Regions from separate parts of the Homo sapiens genome. Here regions 2, 3 and 4 are each linked to region 1. The links are contacts of gene promoters, found by promoter capture Hi-C in blood cells and fetal thymus (Javierre and others, 2016). All regions are on one chromosome and are shown on one strand. Each heading gives the region's core, a stretch centred on a gene start or on the middle of the fragment in contact. The rest is flanking DNA. Distances are from core to core; before and after follow the strand shown.

Evidence for each region. The method cuts DNA at HindIII sites, captures the fragments that hold promoters and counts their contacts. A CHiCAGO score of 5 or more calls a contact.
Region 2: a fragment that was not itself captured here is called in contact with the fragment with the promoter of DUOXA1 in region 1 in 1 of 17 cell types (erythroblasts); the score reaches 5.1 in erythroblasts.
Region 3: a contact is called between a fragment that was not itself captured here and the fragment with the promoter of DUOXA1 in region 1, in 1 of 17 cell types (total B cells). The highest score is 5.4, in total B cells.
Region 4: a fragment that was not itself captured here is called in contact with the fragment with the promoter of DUOXA1 in region 1 in 10 of 17 cell types (endothelial precursors, naive B cells, erythroblasts and 7 more); the score reaches 7.8 in endothelial precursors.

The regions. Positions count from the first base shown.
Region 1 is chr15:45,128,418-45,131,285 of GRCh38, forward strand. DUOXA1 (dual oxidase maturation factor 1) reads right to left here and starts at 1,462. Exons shown (of 9, transcript NM_001276266.2): 1 at 1,435-1,462; 2 at 1,043-1,198; 3 at 601-717. DUOX1 (dual oxidase 1) reads left to right here and starts at 1,577. Exons shown (of 34, transcript NM_175940.3): 1 at 1,577-1,681. The HindIII fragment of the contact is 6,225 bases long and covers 1-1,999 here.
Region 2 is chr15:45,467,229-45,470,096 of GRCh38, forward strand. The region is part of intron 1 of SLC30A4-AS1 (SLC30A4 antisense RNA 1); the gene reads left to right. Among named protein-coding and RNA genes, the nearest start is that of SLC30A4-AS1, 20 kb to the left of the region's middle. The HindIII fragment of the contact is 268 bases long and covers 1,351-1,618 here.
Region 3 is chr15:45,431,859-45,434,726 of GRCh38, forward strand. It overlaps COXFA4L3 (cytochrome c oxidase associated subunit FA4L3), which reads left to right. Exons shown (of 5, transcript NM_197955.3): 4 at 214-274; 5 at 1,090-1,482. The coding sequence ends at 1,158. It overlaps MIR147B (microRNA 147b), which reads left to right and starts at 1,192; the gene lies at 1,192-1,271. It overlaps LOC107987223 (a long non-coding RNA gene), which reads right to left. Exons shown (of 2, transcript XR_001751510.2): 2 at 1,611-2,292. The HindIII fragment of the contact is 164 bases long and covers 1,427-1,590 here.
Region 4 is chr15:45,411,354-45,414,221 of GRCh38, forward strand. The region is part of intron 3 of AFG2B (AAA ATPase AFG2B); the gene reads left to right. Among named protein-coding and RNA genes, the nearest start is that of AFG2B, 10 kb to the left of the region's middle. The HindIII fragment of the contact is 681 bases long and covers 1,121-1,801 here.

The sequences.
Region 1 (2,868 bases), core at 212-2,711:
CAAGACCTCTGATTGGTAATGCACAGCTACTGCAATGTGATGCTTTTTTCTCTGATTGGGGTAGACCCCATTAAACGTTTACAGCTGTGGCTAGCTAAGGGGACCCTGTCAGGAACTCCTGTGCTAGACTTTCCTCTTCAAGGAAGGGGTCTGTGTGTACGTGTGTATCTGTGTATGAATGTATATGTGTGTTGTTGCACAAAAATAGGAGTTAAGTGGAGAAATTGAACAAGATCTGAAAAGTGGATTGGAGGCAGGATTCCCCAGTAAGGGCTGATGTGGATAAGGAATTCAAGGGTGCAGAATCATGCAAGCCAAAGTATCCAGACTCGAGTTAAACTGGGATGGCGATTCGATGTCTATAAACCTTGTGGCATTTATGGCCTTAAGAGGTTTTCCTTGCCTCCCCAGTTTCTTACCAAACTCTCTCTTTGAAGAACTCCCACTTGATCCGAACTTGGTCTGGATGAAAGCAGGAAGTGCAGCCCTAGGTGCCAGGGCGGGAGCAAGCACTTCAAGACCCCCTCCAAAATCACCTGGACCGCACAGATCTAAGCAGCCGCATCCCCCACCACCCACACCCGGACCACTATTCCCTACCTTCCCCTCTTCCAAACAGTGCGTGTGTGGCAGCCTGCGCCTCTCGCCTTCCCCCGTGGAACCTCACACGAAGCGCCCCCGGGGGTGTGATTAAAGAGGGAACCAGGTCCCGACGTTCTGTGAACAAACGCGCGCCCTTACTCTCAGTGGGGCTCCCGTCCGACCCCCACTCCTCTCCTAACTCACGTAAGGACCCGGCTGTGACCGGACAAACCGGGTCTGGGGTGCTTCCAGTCACTCTTCAAGTCACTCCCAAACTTCTCAGACTGCACCCGAGGCTCTGCGGCGCCGCCTCCCTCTCCCGGCCTGGTACAGAGAAGGGCTGGGTGCGCCAGGACAGTAGTACCGGGGTCTGCCAGCTCCGCAGAGGTCCCTCCAATCCCCCCTCCTCCTCTGCGCCCCCCCACCCATGCCCAGCAATCCCAGCAGCTCCAGCGCAAACCTAGCGACGCAGTTCCGGGTCTGGCGGGGCGCGGGCGCGGCTCGCAGGGCGGTGGGACCCCCAAGACCTCACGAGGATCCCCGGAGGGAGACGTGACTCCGGGGTCTTAGAGGGGTTTAGGTCGGATGGGTGACTTGCTTTGACGCCTGGCCTGGTCTGTGGGTGGCAGGTGATCGATGGCCTTGGACTTGGAGCCCAGACCCGACGGTGTCGAGAGGATCTGAGGAGAGTCTCCCCTCCCCATACCCTCTCCGCCTCCCACCCTCTCCCCAGCCCCATGGGACTTGTGAAGGCGGACTTGCTTTTTTCGCCGTCCACACAACCGCACTAGCCGGGCCTTCGGCACCGACGGAACATCTCTACCTGCGCCCCGGGAGCCCTCGCCGTCTCACCTCGCGCGCTGCCGTCCGCTGGAAGCACCTCCGCGCCTCCCCAGGCGCCAGACTCCATCCCGCCCCACTGCGCCCCGCCCCGTGGCTGAGCCGAGCCGGGCCGTGCCTTCCCCTCCTCACCCCCAGCCCCGCCCGTCCCGGCGCAGAGCTGCAGAGGCACCGGACGAGAGAGGGCTCCGCGGGCCCAGCTGGCAGCCAGGCCGGAGACAAGTTGCAGTCCCGGGCTCTGGTGACGCCGTGGCCGCAGGTCAGATTTGGGAGGGCTTTTCCCGGCCCGCGGGCCTGGGCGCTCCGGGGGAGGGAGCTCCAAGGGCAGGGTGGCGGGGGAGCCGCAGCTCCTCCACGTTATGGAAGAAAGGGGAATGCTAGCCCCCTGCGCCTCCGATCTTATCCTAAGGCTAAAACCGGTCCTGTTAGGGCCTGTCCTCTGCCCAATCAAGGTTTTGAGAGACTGGGTTCTTTGGGACCTGGGAATGTTGGGTGGCCTAGTTTGCCTGGGCCTGCGGGTTCTTCTCCTGGCACCAGCACAACATACCAGGGAGGGAGCTTTGGGCTTTAGGATCCAAGCTTTCCCCCTCAGCCCTCCCTTAGGACCAAGATGGCCTTGACCCATCTTCCTCCCACCTCAGGGCCACCAGGGTCACCACTCTAGGGCTTCAGGCTGGAAAAGCAGCCATGTGGGGCAAGAACAGGCAGGCCTGTGTTCTCTCTCTGGTTCTGCCGCTGGCTCTGCCTGGGGCTTCACTGCCCTGTCCTGGGCAACCTTCCTGTCAAGGTTGTTGAGAAGTTACTGCCCCATCGTTGTGTAAATCATTAAGGGCAACCCACCCACAAGGAGTGGTTATTAAGCATGTCCACCTTCCTCTTCAGGTCATCCCCACACAGCCTGGTCTGAAAGCCCATTTCATGCCCTTAGGGGCTGAGTGGTACATTAGCGTTGAGGCCCAGGATCCTGAAGACATGGTGGTGGCGGGGGAGGGGAATGACATCTTGGGATCAGGGAAGGACCGCTGTGGCTACTTCCGTATATCCAGCTTTACAGCTTCAACCATCCAGAGCCCAGCTCTTCATGCACTATTAAAGGCCAGCACCTGGACAGACTCTGTGAAATGCAGCAGGTGATACTGAGCTTTCCAGTTATGGCAGGGCCTAGGTTTTTTCATTTAATAGGAGATGGAGTAGGGATGAGGTCACTCCCTGGGTTCTCTCCTCTAGACAACCCATCCAGGAACCCTGATGTTTGGCTGGGGATGAGGCTTTCCCTGAGCTCCTTTCTTCCTCTATCCTAACCCCAATCTCCAGGTTGCCTTCAGGAGGTCTTCGCCGGCTTTAGGTACTCCTTACTCGCACTCAGGAGTCCCAGCCTGAGTCCTCTGCTGCCTCTGTTTCCCTGTTGACTCTGGGTGGAGAGAGAGAGAGCAGGAAGCTTGCACT
Region 2 (2,868 bases), core at 235-2,734, 340 kb after region 1:
ACATATTTAAAGGGTACAGTTTGGTAAGTTTTGGGACATGAGCACACCCCTGTGAAACCATCACCACAATCAGGACAGTGAACACGTGCAGGACCCACACGAGTTTCCTCCTGCATCTTTGTAATCCCTCCCTCCCACCCTTCCCTGCTCCCACTAATCCCCAGACAACTACAGACCTGCTTTCAGTCATGATAGGTTGCATTTTTTGGAATTTTACTTTTGCCCCATCTTACGATGCTGAGCGTTTTTAAGAATTCCATATAAGTGGAATCCTACAGTATTTACTCTTTTTGGTCTGTCCCTTTTGCTCAGCATAATTCTTTTGAGATTCATCCATGTCATTGTGTTTATCAATAATTAATTCCTTCTTATCGCCCAGCAGTATTCCATTGTGTGGATATGCTATGATTTGTTTATCCATTCATCTGTGGATAAATATATTTTCCCCAGTTTTTAGCCATTGTGACTAAAGCTGCTATGAACATCATTATATGAGTCTTTGGACATATGCTTTAATTTTTCATGGGTAAATACCAAAGAACGGAATGGCTAGATCATATAGTAGAATTTAATTTTGATTAATTCTAACTAACATTAAATGGCCAAATGTGGCTAGTGATTACCATATTGGACAGCACAGTTCCGAAGTATATTCTTTAATCCAGTGATTCTGTAACAGGGAAAGACTTCCCCTCCTTCTGTAAAATCTGAATTTATTTGCTCATCATTCACTGAGCAAAGATTTATTGAGGTTCACTTTGTGCCCTGCATTGTGGTGGTCACTAAGGATGGGATGGGGCAAGATGGACATGGGCCCTGTCCTCAAGGTTCTTGTAGTCTAATGGACTCAGTTTGGTTGGGCCATGGGTGTGTTCAACATTGAAGTCTGCTGAGAAATCGGAGGATGAATCCAAAGCAAAGTTATAAAGTGGAGTGGTTTCTGTTAAGGCATTGAGATGTCCCCAGGAGAGGTGTGGGGTTTGGTGAAGGATCGAGGCTTTCCCACTCCTACTGAGATAACCTGTAAAATGAGAAGCAGGTACAGGGATGAGGGAGGTGAGTTTGGAGGATGGGGTGTAGTTGTTGGTGAACCTGGTGTTTCAGGTGTGTGTGGGGTGCTTATTGTGAAGGAAGTGGGGGAGGAGGACGTACTGTGCTAGTACAGCTGTGCCTGTCCTGGGGATGTGGGGGAACAGTTGGGGAAGATTCAGCTCCTGAGAAACCCCTAGCAATCCGAGCTCTCATTCTGTCACTGTGACACGACATACACACATCTCTCGTTAGGTCTCTCCCTAGAGAAAAACTATTTTTAGGCCATGATTGGGTGGGTGTGGATGCATTGAACCAAGAAGCTTCCTAAGAATTTTTAGGTCCTTCTGCTCATGACTCATCAGGTTCTGCTCCTAATTCTGCAGAAGCAGCTCCAACCATAGGCTTCTGGTGGAAGGATGAGGGAAGGGGCTGTGATAGGATGTCACTCCTGCGCTGATGACATGTTCGGAGCTGGGATGATTATGAGTGATGGTTTGTGAAGCAGACCCTGCGTCCTACTGGTATATTTAAGTTCGTGGTTTTGAACCTGTTAGTAGGGTGCTTGGAAAGCTGGTGAGGCCAGGGAAGCTTCTAGTGAGGCTAGGGAAGCTCAGGAACCCTAAATAGGAATAATGACAACCATAGCCACCATTTATTGAATACTAACATATGCCAGGCATTTTGCATGCATTATTTCATTTAATTCTCACAACAGTCCTATGAAGTCAGCTAATGTTATGAGTCCCCATGTAACTGAGTGCCCCGAAATGAGTTGTCTTCTCTCCCCTTTCCCACTGTTCCCTATTTTCTACTTAGCCCTTCAGAAATGCAAATACAACCTTTCACCTCCCCCTCACCAGACACTCCCTGCAGACAAGTTCTTCTGTGTGCTCCAAGACAGATCTCTCTTGAGAGTTGGCAGATTTGCAGACCAAGTCATGCCCACCACGGAACTTTCACCTCCAGAGGGTTGCCTTGGGACATTCATCCACAAGGAGGGCACAGCAAAATCACACCCTTTTCCCACTTGGCCACTTTTACAACTTCTGCCCAGGAAGGTGCCAACTCAACCGGATGGTAAATAAGGCACCAAACTAGCAGTGGGACCCCCTGCCCTTATTCATTCCCCTCTTACTTTATCAAAGTGTCTCCTTTCTGCTCCAGAGGGGAAGTAGCACATTTGAAGGCAGGACACTTTGTGCCCCTCCCCAAGCTAGTGTGAAAGGAAAATAAATCTTGGGGCCCTGAAATCATGAAGCTAAAGGAAAAAGTCAAGCTGGGAACTGCTTAGGGACCTTTGTTCACTGAAATAAGTGCATATCTGATTGCTTCCTTTGGAGAGGCTAATCAGAAACTCAAAAGAATGCTGTTTGTCTCTTATCTACCTATGACCTGTAAGCCCCCTCCCCGCTTTGAGTCTTCCCACCTTTCCAGACCGAACCAGTGTTCATCTTGCATATGTTGACTGACGTCGCATGTCTCCCTAGCACGTATAAAAGGGAAAACTTTGCTCTGACCACCTTGGGCACATGTCGTCAGGACTTCCTGAGGCTGTGTCACCGGTGCACATCCTCAACTCTGGCGAAATAAACTTTCTAAATTAACTCAGACCTGTCTCAGATTTTCAGAGTTCACACCAGCTTTGCAATAAATTCACTTTTTAAATATCTGGCCTTGCTCTTGTTGGACTGTACATGCGACGAGCAACCAACCTGCATTTCAGTTACACCCACTTTACCAACGAAAAAACTGAGCCTGAAGAGGTCAAATAATTTATCTAAGGTCACACTGACTCAATCTAAATTCAAACTCAGGGTCAGTTCTTCCCCATTGGGA
Region 3 (2,868 bases), core at 259-2,758, 300 kb after region 1:
TTAGGGGAACTGATGTTTAATGTTTGAGCCACACCATGAAACTCCCTTAGAGAATTTTCAATCAATTTTAGTTGCTACTGATGGTTCCTGATCATTAGCAGACACATGCCTTAGTATGAGACTGGTTTTGTCCCTAACATGTTTATAAACCCAGTATCAGTGTTGGTTTAAATTCACATCTTTTAATGTTTAATTGGCTTTCTTTAATTTTAGCCTTGATCGAAAAAAAAATCCAGAACCTTGGGAAACTGTGGACCCTACTGTACCTCAAAAGGTATTGTTAAATTAAAAACAAATGATTTATATTTTGCCCAAACCTTAGCACCTTTGTGAGCAAAATAGATTTAGTACCTTACCCTTATTGTGTAACTTAGATCAATTGTGCCTTCATCGAGTAATTAAAATGAGGAAATTTTAAGAGCCTACTCTATGCCAGGAGCATTGTCCATCCACTCATGAGAAGCATATACACTTTTGGAACTATGGCTCACATAATACCTGGCAAACTTAAAAATCTGGATACCGGCCAGGCACGGTGTCTCACACCTGTAATGCCAACACTTTGGGAGGCCGAGGCGGGTGGATCACTTGAAGTCAGGAGTTCGAGACCAGCTTGGCCAACATGGTGAAATTCCATCTTTACTAAAAATACAAAAATTAGCTGGGTGTAGTAGAACGCACCTGTAAACCCAGCTACTGGAGAGGCTGAGGCACGAAAATTGCTTGAACATGGGAGGCGGAGGCTGCAGTGAGTTGCAGTTGTGCCACTGCACTCCAGCCTGGGCAACACAGCAAGACTGTCTTAAAAAAAAATCTGGATACTGCTAAGTGAAAGTAGGGCACATGTGTTTGATCTTTCCCTCTGATCTCATAACACTTAGGAGCCCAAGGGCTTTGTAAAAAGATGGACTGATAGAAACCAGCTCACATTACTATTTTGTGCATGTTTTAGATATGGAAAGAGGTAGGTACAAACACAATGGTGATGCTTTTTCTAAAGGGGAGTGTGGACAAATCCGAAAGAGGGACATGCAAATGAAAGTCAAATTTTTAACAAAAGGTTTTTTTTTTTTCCTTTTTTCTCTTCAGCTTATAACAATCAACCAACAATGGAAACCCATTGAAGAGTTGCAAAATGTCCAAAGGGTGACCAAATGACGAGCCCTCGCCTCTTTCTTCTGAAGAGTACTCTATAAATCTAGTGGAAACATTTCTGCACAAACTAGATTCTGGACACCAGTGTGCGGAAATGCTTCTGCTACATTTTTAGGGTTTGTCTACATTTTTTGGGCTCTGGATAAGGAATTAAAGGAGTGCAGCAATAACTGCACTGTCTAAAAGTTTGTGCTTATTTTCTTGTAAATTTGAATATTGCATATTGAAATTTTTGTTTATGATCTATGAATGTTTTTCTTAAAATTTACAAAGCTTTGTAAATTAGATTTTCTTTAATAAAATGCCATTTGTGCAAGATTTCTCAAAGATTAGGTATATATTTAAATGGAAGAGAAAATATTTTTATGGGAGAAAAATACATTTGAACCATGAAATTTCATCTTTTAAATAACATCCAGTACAGATTTCTGTGTAAGCTTTTTTTTCCAAGTTCATTCATTCACTAGTAGTTTATTGAGCATCTACTATTTGCAGTATAGCTAACAAAGCCAAAATTTGGTGGGATACGAATAAAAGATGGTAAGTACAATGAGGAAAATGAAGTGGGGATGAGGTTGGAGACTCGCATGAGGACTGACCTTGGAGGAAGTGTAGGATTCTGGAGATGAATTGGAATGCAAGGCATACTGAGATCTGCCCTAAAGATGCCAAGCCAGGCTGGGCGCGTGGCTCACGCCTGTCATCCCAGCACTTTGGGAGGCTGAGGCGGGCAGATCACAAGGTCAGGAGATTGAGACCATCCTGGCTAACACAGTGAAACCCCGTCTCTACTAAAAATACAAAAAATTAGCTGGGCGTGGTGGCGGGCGCCTGTAGTCCCAGTTACTCGGGAGGCTGAGGCAGGAGAATGGCATGAACCCGGGAGGCAGAGCTTGCAGTGAGCTGAGATCACACCACTGCACTCCAGCCTGGGTGACAGAGTGAGACTCCGTCTCAAAAAAAAAAAAAAAATGCCAAGCCATACTGTGATGTTCCTGTGGAGGCTAGGGAGAGGAAGATGGGGAGCCTTGCCAGCGCTCTTCAGAGTTTGGGGCCACTCTTCCCTCTGGCCAATGGTAACTTGAAGGCTGAAGATACATTCATATCCAGCATGCCGCTGGGCTCCCCTGCCTGTCCCTAAAAATGAAATAAGAAGAAAGTTGCTTTTCATTAACTTTTTTTAAAAAAATGGAGATATAATTCACATGTCATAGTATTCACCCATTTAAATTGAACAATTCAGTGGTTTTTAGCGTATTCACAAAGTTGTGCAACCATCTCCATCTACTTTCAGAACATCTTCCTTACCCCAGAAAGAACTCTGTACCATTAGCAGTCATTTCCCTAGTCCCAACCCCTCTGCTCCCAGCCCCAGGGAAATACTAATAAACTGTCTCTATGGATTTGCCCATTCTGGACATCTCATGTAAATGGAATCAGGCAATATGTGACCTTTGGGTTTGGCTCCTTTAACTTGGTATAGTGTTTTTAAGAGTCATCTATGTTGTACCATGTTTATATTATCAGTATTTCATTACTTTTTCTGACAGTACTCTTCCAGTGTAAGGATATGCCATTTTTGTTCATTGGTAAGTTGATGAACATTTGGGTTGTTTCTACTTTTTGGCTATTATGAATAATGCTGCTATGAACAGCCATGTACAAATTTTTGTGTGGCCATATATTTTTGGTTCTCCTAAGTAGGTACCTAAG
Region 4 (2,868 bases), core at 211-2,710, 280 kb after region 1:
ACCCAGGCTGGAGTATTGTGTCACAAACACAGCTCACTGCACCCTTGAACTCCTGGGCTCAAGCAGTCCTTCTGCCTCAGTGCCCCACCAAGTAGCTGGGACTACAGGTGCATACCACCACGCCTGGCTAATTTTTAAATTTTTTGTAGAGATAGAGTCCCACTGTGCTACTCAAGCTGGCCTTGAACTCCTGGGCTTAAACAGTCCTCCAACTCGGCCTCCTAAAATGGTGGGATTATAGTCATGAGCCACCATGCCTGGCCTACAAAAAATTTTTTTAAATTAGCCAGGTGTGGTAGCACGTGCTTATGGTCCTAGCTACTCAGGAGGATCACTTGAGGCTTGACCCCAGGACACCCAGGAGATCGAGGCTGCAGTGAGCTATGATTGCACCACTGCACTGCAGCTTGGGCAACAGAGCGAGATCCTGTGTCTTTAAAAAAAAATTAAAAAACAATTTTGACTGGGCATGGTGGCTTACACCTGTAATCCCAGCACTTTGGGAGGCCGAGGCAGGCAGATCACCTGAGGTCAGGAATTAGAAACCAACCTGGCTGGCATGGAGAAACCCCATTTCTACTAAAAATGCAAAAAATTAGCCAGGCGTGGTGGCGCATGCCTGTAATCCCAGCTACTCAGGAGGCTGAGGCAGGAGAATCGCTTGAACCCGGGAGGTGGAGGTTGCAGTGAGCCAAGACCACGCCATTGTACTCCAGCTTGAGCAACAAAAGTGAAACTCCATCTCAAAAAAACAAAAACAATTTATAGGCCGGGCGTGGTGGCTCACACCAGTAATCCCAGCACTTTGGGAGGCCGAGGCAGGAGGATCACGAGGTCAGGAGTTCAAGACCAGCCTGGCCAACATGGTGAAACCCTGTCTCTACTAAAAATACAAAAATCAGCCAGGTGTGGTGGCGCAAGCCTGTAATCCCAACTACTGGGAAGGCTGAGGCAGGAGAATCGCTTCAACCTAAGAGGCTGAGGTTGCAGTGAGCTGAGGTTGCACCACTGCACTCTAGCCTGGGACAGAGTGAGACTCCGTCTCAAAAAAAAAAAAAATTATAATCTAAAACGGGGGTCAACAGATTTCTGTAGAGAGAGCCACATAGTCAATGTTTTAAGCTTTGTGATCCACAGTCTCTGTCATAACCACTCACCTCTGCCGTTGTAGCACCAAAGCAGCTGTAGACCATATGTAAATTAGTAATTGTATTCTGATAAAAGTATAGACACTGAAATTATATAATTTTCACATGTCAGAAAATATTCTTTTGATTTTTTTTCAAGCATTTACAAATGTAAAAACTATTCTTAGTTTGGGCTGTACCAAATAAAGGTGGAAGGCCTTAGTTTGCCTGGATCTCTGATCTAAAAGACGTTAAATGGATGCAGTACAGGGACTGGTAAAAGCACAAAATTGAAATGAACAATATGGCTACCTGATAGTGGATTTCACAGTGGAAGCTGTGGGACGCAACTCTTCAGATCCTCTCACCTGCGTTACAGTTTCAGAAATTGATTTTGCCAATTCGCCTACATGTGATCCTGCCCTAATGAACTAGGTTTCTCTAACCACACACATAACAGACTGATATATAAGTAATAATTATAATTTATTCATCTTAACCAGGAGATCTATCTCCAGTGAACCCTAGAATTTTTGAGTCCATGGATAAGAGCATTTATAATATGCGCCAATATTTTTTATGCATTGTCTCATTTAATGTTCACAAGATGCATGAGAGAAATTAACCACACCTTCCTGTTGGAAGCACTCTGTTTCCTTAGCTTTGAGACATTAAGCTTTTCTGCCTTTCTGGCCACCCTCTCCCCTCCCTTAAATGTTAGTGCTCAAGAGGCTCCCAGAGTCCTCCTCTTGTTGGAGCTGTGGGTGATTTTATGATGATCTTGATGTCCACAGCATCCCTGAAAACTGTTGACTCAGAAATCTGTATATCTAGAGTAGACATTTCTTCTGATCATCAGAACTACTTCACTGCCTGCCTACTGGATAACCCCAGGGATGTCAAACTCAGCATGTAAAAAGTTCAGCTAGTCAGCTCTGCCCCCACACTTGGATTCCCTACCTCAGTTAATACAGCCAGCCACCCCATCCCCTAAGTCAGAAATCTGTCTTCTAAAGGCATAGCATCAGAACTTTGTCCCTATGTAAAGTACAATTCTGTTTTATGTTTCAAATATCCATCCCTTCCACACCATCTTCACTGCTTGTGACACTCCAGCCTTATTATTTTTGTAGGCTGAATCATTGCAAGAAACTTGTAGCTGGTCTCCCTGCCTCTAGTTTAATTTCCTTCCAGTCCATTCTCCATACTGCTTCCTCAGTGCAGACTAAAGCTTTCAAGGCCTATTGTGATCTGACTCCTACCTCCACTTCAACACCGTTGCTCCTTGCTGGTGCTCTTGAATTACATTGTCTGGGGTCAGTATTGGTTCTGCCACCTCATTAGCAGTAAGACCTAGGCAAATTACTTAACTTTTTTTAGGCCCGAGTTTTTTTGCATCTGTAAAATAATGATTAAAGTGGTTAAAAACCATTTACCTTAAAGGTAATGAGGACTCATTCATTATTCGGTTTACTGTTACTGAGTGCCTCCTTTGGGTAGGTGTCATTCTAGCTGCTGGGGATTTTGAGGTGAGCTTTGCTTACGTTCTAGCAGAGCAGAATGACAAACCCAACGTGGAAAAATAATAATAGTGAATACTTGCTTTAAAAGTAAAGGATGGGCAGTAGCATAGAGAGTGAGTAGGAGGAGGGGGTTCCGCTTTAACCAGGTAGTTAGGAAAGACTAACTCCAAGGAATTGACACCTGCGCTGAGACCTGAGTGATGAGGGATAGCCACACG